Linked DNA regions of Homo sapiens: region 1 is linked to region 2. Evidence: promoter capture Hi-C in 16 types of primary human blood cells and fetal thymus (Javierre and others, 2016). All regions are on one chromosome and are shown on one strand. The core of a region is centred on a gene start or on the middle of the fragment in contact, and the rest is flanking DNA. Distances in the headings are between cores, read along the strand shown.

Evidence for each region. The method cuts DNA at HindIII sites, captures the fragments that hold promoters and counts their contacts. A CHiCAGO score of 5 or more calls a contact.
Region 1: a contact is called between a fragment that was not itself captured here and the fragment with the promoter of TRIM56 in region 2, in 1 of 17 cell types (neutrophils). The highest score is 5.5, in neutrophils.

The regions. Positions count from the first base shown.
Region 1 is chr7:100,551,377-100,556,138 of GRCh38, reverse strand. AGFG2 (ArfGAP with FG repeats 2) reads right to left here. Exons shown (of 12, transcript NM_006076.5): 4 at 2,639-2,792; 5 at 1,881-2,046; 6 at 404-529. Among named protein-coding and RNA genes, the nearest start is that of AGFG2, 15 kb to the right of the region's middle. The HindIII fragment of the contact is 8,538 bases long and covers 1-4,762 here.
Region 2 is chr7:101,082,960-101,087,694 of GRCh38, reverse strand. It overlaps TRIM56 (tripartite motif containing 56), which reads right to left and starts at 2,214. Exons shown (of 3, transcript NM_030961.3): 1 at 2,124-2,214; 2 at 527-689; 3 at 1-383. The coding sequence starts at 382. RefSeq lists enhancers at 1-522, 2,604-2,653, 3,357-3,857. The HindIII fragment of the contact is 9,878 bases long and covers 1-2,604 here.

The sequences.
Region 1 (4,762 bases), core at 1,385-3,884, 530 kb after region 2:
TAGAGGGATGGATGAGGACTTCTGGAGACTACCTTGACCCTTGACCCTTTGGGACAGCGTACTATGCAGACAAGAGCACCTTAGAGAAAAAGTCACGTCCATTTTCAATTTTTCTAGGACTCAGGTCTTCCATACTTCCTAGTGAAAAGTTTCCTAGTGTATAACCCACACAGCTCCTGCTGCAATCTTAGTCATTTTCCTTTCATGAAAAAGCAGAACAGTAGAGCCCCCTCTCCCTGACAAGAATGTGTCAGACACGCTCATCCTCTCCTGGAGCTGCTTCTCTTTGTGCTTTGCTGCTTTGAGCAGTTCTTTAGGATAGTGAGGATATGAATGGTGATTTATAGACATGAACAAATGGACACGGTTGGAAGAGAAAGGAAGCCAGTGGGGCAGAGTTTACCTGCAGGAGTTGGCTGGGCCTGGAACGAGGCTTGACCAGCTGGAGGGAGGCTTCCAAACACAGAAGAGCTGGGGCCACTGCTAAAGGCATCAAAGTTGGCAAAGCCTCCTTGGGAAGGTGTCTGGCCTGTAGGTGGAAGAAACATAAAGGTTATATAGAAAATTGTCGGGTGTGGTAGCTCACGCCTGTAATTCCAGCACTTTGGGAGGCCGAGGTGGGCAGATCACTTGAGGTCAGAAGTTCAAGACCAGCCTGGTCAACATGGTGAAATCTGTCTCTACTAAAAATATAAAAATTAGCTGGGCGTGGTGGTACATGCCTGTAATCCCAGCTACCTTGGAGGCTGAGGCATGAGAATTGCTTAAACCTGGGAGGTGGAGCTAGCAGTGAGCCGAGATTGTGCCACTCTACTCTAGCCTGGGTGACAGAATGAGACTCTGACTCAAAAAAAAAAAAAAAAAAAAAAAAAAAACCACACACACACAACAGAAAAAGAAAAGAAAATGTATATGCCTATCCATGTAATATAGCTACTAATTCTAAAGGCCAAAGGCCACTCTTATGGGACATCTGCCTTTCCACAGGGTTCTCTTCAGAGGGAAATGGGTGGGGCCTGGGGCCAAGAGCCAGACCCACACAGGGGAACAGGGGCACCCAGGGCCTCCAGGTTCACTCCCTGCCCTCTTCTGTCCTTACTCCATGAGGCATTAACATTTTTGTCAGGGCCTAGTTTGGAGCATGAAAATTTTTTTTCATGGAGGAAGGAGCTTGAATTTTTTTTTTTTTTTTTTTTTTTTTGAGACGGAGTCTCACTCTGTCACCTAGGCTGGAGTCCAGTGATGCAATTGTGATTCACTGCAACCTCCACCTCCTAGGTTCAAGCAATTCTCCTGCCTTAGCCTCCCAAGTAGCTGGGACTACAGGCACATGCCACCACACTTGGCTAATTTTTTTTTTCTTTTTAGTAGAGATGAGGTTTCACCATGTTGGCCAGACTGGTCTTGAACTCCTGACCTCAGGTGATCTGCCCACCTCAGCCTCTCAAATGCTAGGATTACAGGTGTGAGCCACTGTGTCTGGCTTGAAAATTTTTAAAAAGGGAAAACAGATTCTATGCTGCTGAACCCTCTACTGGCTATTGCTGATTTGGGGGAAGAATAATCTTTGGTGAACTGGAACACATGATAATCCCCCTCCTCCCATTTTAACAGAGACAGAAAATAATAAAAAAGGCTATTTCCAGTGTTCTAAAAGGAAGTGCTAGGAGCCCTCAACTATAATGTTTTAGGATCAAACCCCCAAACATAATCCTGGCTGTACTTATTTGACCCCAGTCCTCCCAGCCTCACTGCTTCAGAGTGACCCTCACATTTGTTTGCATGAGAAGATCTAGAGCCATGGTTACCTCCAGGGACTGGATCTCTCATGTTGTAAGCATATACGCTGTAGGGAGGGTCCCATCCCAAAACCCACTTACCCCCAAAGGCAGGGAATGCAGCAAAAGCTGGTGCCATCTGGGGTGCAGCAAAGGGGTCTCCACCGATGTCAGCCAGCAGGTCAGTACTGGCTTTTTTGACAGAGGAGTGGGGAGGTGGCTGAGTGCTCCGGGCCTGGGATGTCCGAGCGTGAGACTGACTGACGGGCTTGGAGGAGAAGGAATGCATACAGCCCTTAGAATCCCAGACATGCCCCAGGCCCTCCTCTGGCTCCCCAGGTTGCCCTCAGATAGGCAGGTAGAGAGAGAAGACAGTGAGTAACTGCCCTCAACCTAGAAGATTCCTGGGCAGGAGCTGCCTTAGCCCCTCTCAGAGCTCATATCATCCTCATCTTCTCAGTACACCTGCTCCAAGAACCACACATTTTACAGCACATGAGCCAAGGTAACCCTGAGATATACAGGAATACTGCCCAATACTGCCCCCAGGGCTGTTACTCCTCAACCTTCCCAGGTATTGGACACCATATTCCAGCCCCTTCTGTGTTTCTTTGATGGAATGCTCAGGTTTGGAGCTGATATTCTGACTTTCCTAAATACCACTTCCTGTTAGGTTCTGACTTCCAAAAGATATGAGGTCCAGAAGTGACAAATACAAGATACAGGTTAACAGCAGAGCCGAGACCCAACTCACAGCTCCTGCACTGTTGTCTGCTAAGTCCGGGGAATCTGATTCAGGAAACTGACACTCCTGTCTCCCAAATCTCAAAAGAAACATGACGAGCAGATCTGAGAGTTACCTGGCTCGAGGTGGAGGCAGCAACTGAGAGAGACGGTGCAGGATCACCCAGAAGTGTCCGAAGGGGCTTCCCTTCTGGGATGGAGCCCTGCACAGGGGTGGAGGCACTGCCTTTGGTATAAGTGGGCCCCTTGACTTGGTCTGGGGGGACATACCTTTGAGAAAGAATAGTTAGGCTGTAAAGAGAGGGATAAAACTTTGGACCACGCTCAGCTGAGATGTTTGGGAAGACACAGGAGTCAAAATCTATGCTCATTTTTCTCTACTGATTCCCTTTTTTGAAGGGAACCGAGCAACTTAGCAAAGTTCTGCCTATCTTGAGCATCCCCTTGAACATCTTTTGGTTTTTTTGAGACAGGGTCTCGCTGTTGCCCAGGGTGGAGTGCAGTGGGGCAATGTTGGCTCAACACAGCCTTAACTACCTAGGCTCAAGTGATTCTCCTGCCTCAGCCTCCCAAGTAGCTGGGACCACAAACAAGTACATGCTACCATGCCTGGCTAATTTTTTAATTATTTGTAGAGAAGAGGTCTCACTATGTTGCCCAGGGTGGTCTCAACCTCTTGGCCTCAGGTGATCCTCCTGCCTTAGCCTCCAAAGTTCTGGGATTACAGGCATGAGCCACCACACCTGGCAAAGGTCCCCCTCTTTTATTTCCTGGGTGTTTCTTCAGACTCCTTCTTCTCAGCTCCATAGAAAAGCTGCCTGCCGCCTCATCCTCTAGGTGCTCACAATCCACACTTCCATCCTGCCAGCTCCTGCCGGGACAATTCCCTTCCACTACAGTGTATGTGGCCCCTACTCTGTAAGTGTCAGCTTAATCCTGAGGACATCCCTAGGAGGGACTCCACAGTGTGGTCTTATCCACATCAATCTCTTTGTTCTCTGCATTCTCTTCTCTACCTCACAGTTACCTCCCAACATGTACACACCCCAGAGATCCCACAAGAAGTGATACCAGGGGAGAGGAAAGGTAAGGGAGAATGGAGATGCTGTTTCCTTCATCAGGAAGACAAAATATAGTTGTCCCATGGTATCCTCAGGGAACTGGTTCCAGGATCCCCCTGACAATTCCATAATCAGAGGACGGGACACTCAAGTCTCTTATATAATATGGTGAAGTATTTGCATCAAATATGTATATCCTCCAATATACTTTAAATCATCTCTAGGTTACTTATAATACCTAATACAATGTAAATGCCATGCAATAGTTGCTATATTGTATTGCTTTTTATTTGTATTATTATTTTTTTTTTGAGACGGAGTTTCACTCTGTCACCCAGGCTAGAGTACAGTGGCACGATCTCAGCTGACTGCAACCACTGCCTCCCGGGTTCAAGCAGTTCTCTGCCTCAGCCTCCTGAGTAGCTCGGATTACAGGTGCCCATGACCATGCCTGGCTAATTTTTTGTATTTTTAGTAGAGACGGGGTTTCACCATCTTGGCCAGGCTAGTCTTGAACTAGTCCTGACCCTGTGATCCACCCGCCTCGGTCTCCCAAAGTGCTGGGATTACAGGCATGAGCCACCACACCTGGCCTTATTTGTATTATTTTTTATTGTTGTATTGTTATTTTTTGTGTTCCCTACTTTTTTTTTTTTTTTTTTTTTTTTTTGAGACAGTCTCTCTCTCTTTGCCCAGGCTGGAGTACAGTGGCATGATCTCAGCTCACTGCAACCTCCGCCTCCTGGGTTCAAGCAATTTTCCTGCCTCAGCCTCCAGAGTAGCTGGGATTACAAGTGTCCACCCCCACACCCAGCTAATTTTTTTTGTATTTTTAGTAGGGACGGGGTTTCACCATGTTGGCCAGGCTAGTCTCGAACTCCTGACCTCAAGTGGTCTGCCCACCTCAGCCTCCCAAAGTGCTGGGATTATAGGCGTGAGCCACCTTGCCTGGCCTATTTTCCCAAATATTTTTGATGTGAGGTTGATTGGATCCATGGTTGCAGAATCTACAGATACAGAGGGCTGACTGTACATATAAATCATGAAACAAGGCCGGGCACGGTGGCTCACGCCTGTAATCCCAGCACTTTGCGAGGCCAAGGCAGGCAGATCATTTGAGCCCAGGAGTTTCAGACCAGCCTGGGCAACGTGGTGAAACCTCATTTCTACAAAAAATAT
Region 2 (4,735 bases), core at 965-3,464:
ACAAGTCATCGGCACAGTCCAGGCACCGGGCCGTGGCCGGCCCCCCGGTGCTGGTGCCACCCACCAGGGGACACAGGGCACAGGCTGGCTTCCCGGCACGCAGGTCTCCACAGGCCCGGGCCTTCACCAGGTCCAGCAGCCCATTGACGAAGAAGTTGGTCTTGAAGGAGGCCACACCCTCGGGCGGCACAGGCACTGTCTCGCGGCACTCGGGGCAGCGGACGCGGCCGCCATCCGCCAGCTGTGCCAGGCAGTCTTGGCAGTAGGTATGCAGGCAGGGCAGTGTCTTGGGTGCCCGCAGCTGCTCCAGGCAGATTTTACAGGCCAGGAAGTCGCTGCTCAGGGCCTCCAGGAGGGAGGGCGAGGACCCGTGGGAAACCATGCTGCAGGCAGAGGCGTCAGGATCAGAGTTGAGAAGGCACCTTCACCAGCTCACCCTCTAGCTTCTACCGCCCGTCCTCAAGCCCCACGGATCCCCAGGGCTAGGGGCTGACCCAAATGGCCGGGAAGGAACCTGAGGTCTCACCTGAATGGCCAGGAACTTCCTTCTAGTCTTCTGAGGCCTTGGGCCACTTGCTCTTGAGCTAAGGAGCTGCCCTCCTCCTTCTCCTCCTCCTCCTCCACTTCCGTGTGTACATCCAGCAAACGTAAAAATGTCAGTGCTACTTGTTGGGTCAGACCTGTGAGAACTGACAAGACCAGGAGTCCCTGGCCTTAGCTAATAATCGAATCCTCAGTGTCCCCAGTCCACAGGCCTTGTGGCAAACATGGTGGAAGCCCTCCTGTGTGCACAGGTACTGGGGTCCTGCTGTATAGGGTGCCAGGGTGCGAGGAGCAGGCAGTAAGGACACAGACGGGGATCCCAGTGGGCAGAGATGCCTAGGTCCTGCCAGTTGGGGTAGGATCTTGCAGTAGCTTAGGGGGCTTTAATCCTCCAAGCCCCATACACCTGCCTTCTTTTTATTTTATTTTAGTTTTTAGCAATAGGGTCACCCTCTGTCACCCAGGCTGGAGTGCAGTGGCGTGATCGTAGTTCACTGCAGCCTCAAACTCCTAGACTCAAGTCTTTTGAGTAGTTGGGAGTACAGGCATGTGCCACCATGCCCAGCCTTTTTTTTTTTTTTTTTTTTTTTTGAGACAGAGTCTCACTCTGTTGCCCAGGCTGGAGTGCAGTGGTGCGATCTTGGCTCACTGCCACCTCCACCTGCCAGGTTCAAGTGATTCTCCTGCCTCAGCCTCCCGAGTAGCTGTGATTACAGGTGCGCACCATCACACCCGGCTAATTTTTGTATGTTTAGTAGAAATGGAGTTTGGCCCTATTGGCCAGGCTGGTCTTGAACTCCTGACCTCAGGTGATCCGCCCTCCTCGGTCTCCCAAAGTGCTGGGATTATAGGCGTGAGCCACCATGCCCAGGGGCCCAGCCAGCCCATTTTTTAAAAATTATCACTTTTTGTAGAGATGGGGTCTTGCTATGTTGCCCAGGCTGGTCTCCAACTCCTGGCCTCAGGCTATCCTCCCGTCTCGGCCTTCCCAAAGCATTAGGATTACAGGCATGAGCCACCGCACCCGCCTGGCCTTACACCTGTCTTCTGCTAGACCTGGGGCAGCATCGCGGGTGGTGGAGGCCCCACTTTCTGCATTTAACAGTTTCTAAAGCGGATTCTGGAGCGGGCAGAAAAAACGCTAGGGGAAGGGCTGGTCCCCTTCCCGCTGCTGGCTCACCCTCTGATAGACTTGGCCTTGGCTTATCTCCTGGAGTCCTGTTCTTTTAGCTTTTCCTGCTGAATGCATTCCAGAAACCTCTGGAGGGAGGGAGTCCCGAGCTCCTGGCACAGTGGCTGAGACCTACTTGTTGGGCAGACTAGGTGGAATGTCCCCTTTTCTGGAGCTGGGAGGAGACCTCAGAGAGTGGGACGGGGTCTTTCTTGCGGGGACCTGTGGCCACGGAGCGGGAGGGAGGCGAGTGCAGTTTCCCTCCTGCCCTCTCCTCCTGCCTTCCGGGTGCCTCTTCACGCCCTCCCTTTCCTTCCCTTCCTCCTCCTCCCGCGCTCTCTCTCCACTCCCCTCCCCCTACTCCCTCCGCTCGGTCCTTCCTATAGCTGTGCCGCCCCCCACCCCTTACCTAGCCAGAGCTGATCTTGACCTCTAGGATGGTGAGGGGGCCTGAGGCCTGGAGGCCGCCGTTGCTGGGTGCCTGGAAAAGAAACAAAACTGAAACTAATTGTACTTGTGGTGCAACTTCCGTCCCAGCCAGGGACACACCGACTCGCCTCGCACAGCCTCAGGCCCCGCCTTCCTCCCCACCCGGCCCCGTCCTCTCCCGCCAAGGCCCCCACCCCGGCAGGCAGCTGGCAGGCTTGGGCTGGAGTCCACCAGCCAGGTCGGCCTGTCAGTCCAGCCTCAGGGCTAAGTGTGTGTATGTCACAAACAGGGAACTACCTGAGGGCGGGTTCTCTGAGTAGAGGGTGGAGGGTCACAGGGTTTATTTGTGGGAAGAAATGAGAGCTCATCTGTGATTCAGAGACCAGGGTAACTAGACACATGGCCTCAGGGCGGGTCTGCAGATTTGCTAACACCTCAGGCAGGCAGGTGCCTGCAAAGCTTCAAGAGAGGCCTTTCATTCCATAAACCGTTGCTGAGCTGTAGGAGAGGCTGTGGGGGATCAGGTAAGAAGCCTCTTGCTGAGGGAACAGCACAGGCTTCCTGGAGAAGGCATCAATGAGATGAGTTTAAAGAAGGCGGGAGGATTGCTTCAGCCCAGGAGTTCAAGACCAGCTTGGGCAATATGGTGAGACCCAGTCTCCATAAAAAATTCGCTAGCCGTGCATGGTAGCGCATACCTGTAATCCCAGATACTCAGGAGACTGAGGCAGGAGAATCACTTGAACCTGGGAGGTCGAGGCTGCAGTGAGCCATGATGGTGACACTGCACTCCAGCCTGGATGACAGAGCAAGACCCTGTCTAAAAAATAAAACAGTAAGAGGGCATAGAGGGCTGGAGAACACTGAGAAGAATGTTCCTGTTCCAGGTACTGGGAGCAGCAAGGGTACATCCCCATTTAGGATGATGTGTGTGGAGAGGATACGAGAGTGTTGGCAGAGAAGCCTGCATTTTATCAAAAAAGACAAAAGAATCATTGCAGGAGATTTCCCTCAACATTTCATGAAAAAATAATTTTTATTTTGAGACAAAGCCTCGCTCTGTCGCCCAGGCTGGAGTGCAGTGGTGTGATCTTAGCTCACAGCAACCTCCGCTTCCCGGGTTCAAGCGATCCTCCTGCCTCAGCCTCCAAAGTAGCTGGGATTACGGGCACTCACTGCCACGCCCAGCTAATTTTTGTATTTTTAGTAGAGATGGGGTTTCACTATGTTGGCCAGGCTGGTCTCGAACTTCTGACCTCAAGTGATCCACCCACCTTGGCCTCCCAAAGTGCTGGGATTACAGGCGTGAGCCAACATGCACAGCCTCATTTTATGAAAAATTCAAAGCACAAAGAAGTTGAAAGAATTGCGGTGAACACCCATATCTCCACCACTTCTGTTCTACAATTATCATTTTACCGTAATTAATTCATGACATACCTATGCATGTTTGTACCTTTTTATCCACATGGCGGAATTTAAGTAGGAAACTGAAGCTGTAAGAGCTCACTCTGGCAGCAGCCGAGAGGACAGAAGGGAGCCTGACCTCAGGGTCCAGGTGAAAGGTGGAGGGGCTGAGACATAGATGCCAGAGAGGTAGGTGGAAATCCAAAAGAGAGAGGGTCACAGAGGCCAAGGCAGGAAATGCTGCACTTCTAGAAGGACGAGGGGGTCAGCACTGTTGAATGCTACCAACCAGACGGGCAACCAAGGTGAAGACAGAAAAACAGGCCAGGTGCAGTGGCTCACACCTGTAATCTCAGCACTTTGGGAGAATCACTTGAGGCCAGGAGTTCGAGACCAGCCTGGCCAACATGGCAAAACCTCGTCTCTACTAAAAAACAAAACAAAACAAAACAAAACCTAGCCTTCCTAGCTACTCGGTAGGCTGAGGCAGGAGAACTGCTTAAACCTGGGAGGCAGAGGTTGCAGCGAGCCTAGATCGCACCATTGCACTCCAGCCTGGGCAACAGAGTGAGACTCCATCTCAAAAAATATATATATTAGCTACCTGATGGCTCACACCTGAAGTCCCAGCTATTCAGGAGGCTGAAGCAGGAGGTTCGCTTGAGCCCAGGACTTCAAGGCTGCATGTGCCATGATCTATGCCACTGCACTCCAGCCTGGGTGACAGATCAAGACTCTCTCTACAAAAAAAAAAAATTAAAATTAAAATTAAATTCCCTGTTGTGAATCTCGTAAGGTCTTAATATAATGGTCAAGGAAGGCCATTATAAGGCTTCCAGCAGGGAAGTTTGGACTTTGTCCTATAGGTATTAGAGGGAGTGGCCAGCACAGACATTTGTTTGTTTGTTTTTTGTTTGTTTGTTTGCAGAGATGGGGTCTTTCTATGTTGCCTAGGCTAGTCCTGGGATTATAGGCATGAGCTACCAGGCCCGGCCCCCAGCAGAGGTTTTTAATCCTAAATTATAATGTGGATACTTTAAAACACTCATATCATCATTGTAACACAATTAACTATTTCTTTCCTGTGTGTATGTCCTTTGGTCTCTGTCCGTATTTTACATAATTATATTTACAGGGTACATATAATTTTGTCTATAAAACTTAGCCCTATACCAACTGGTAAAC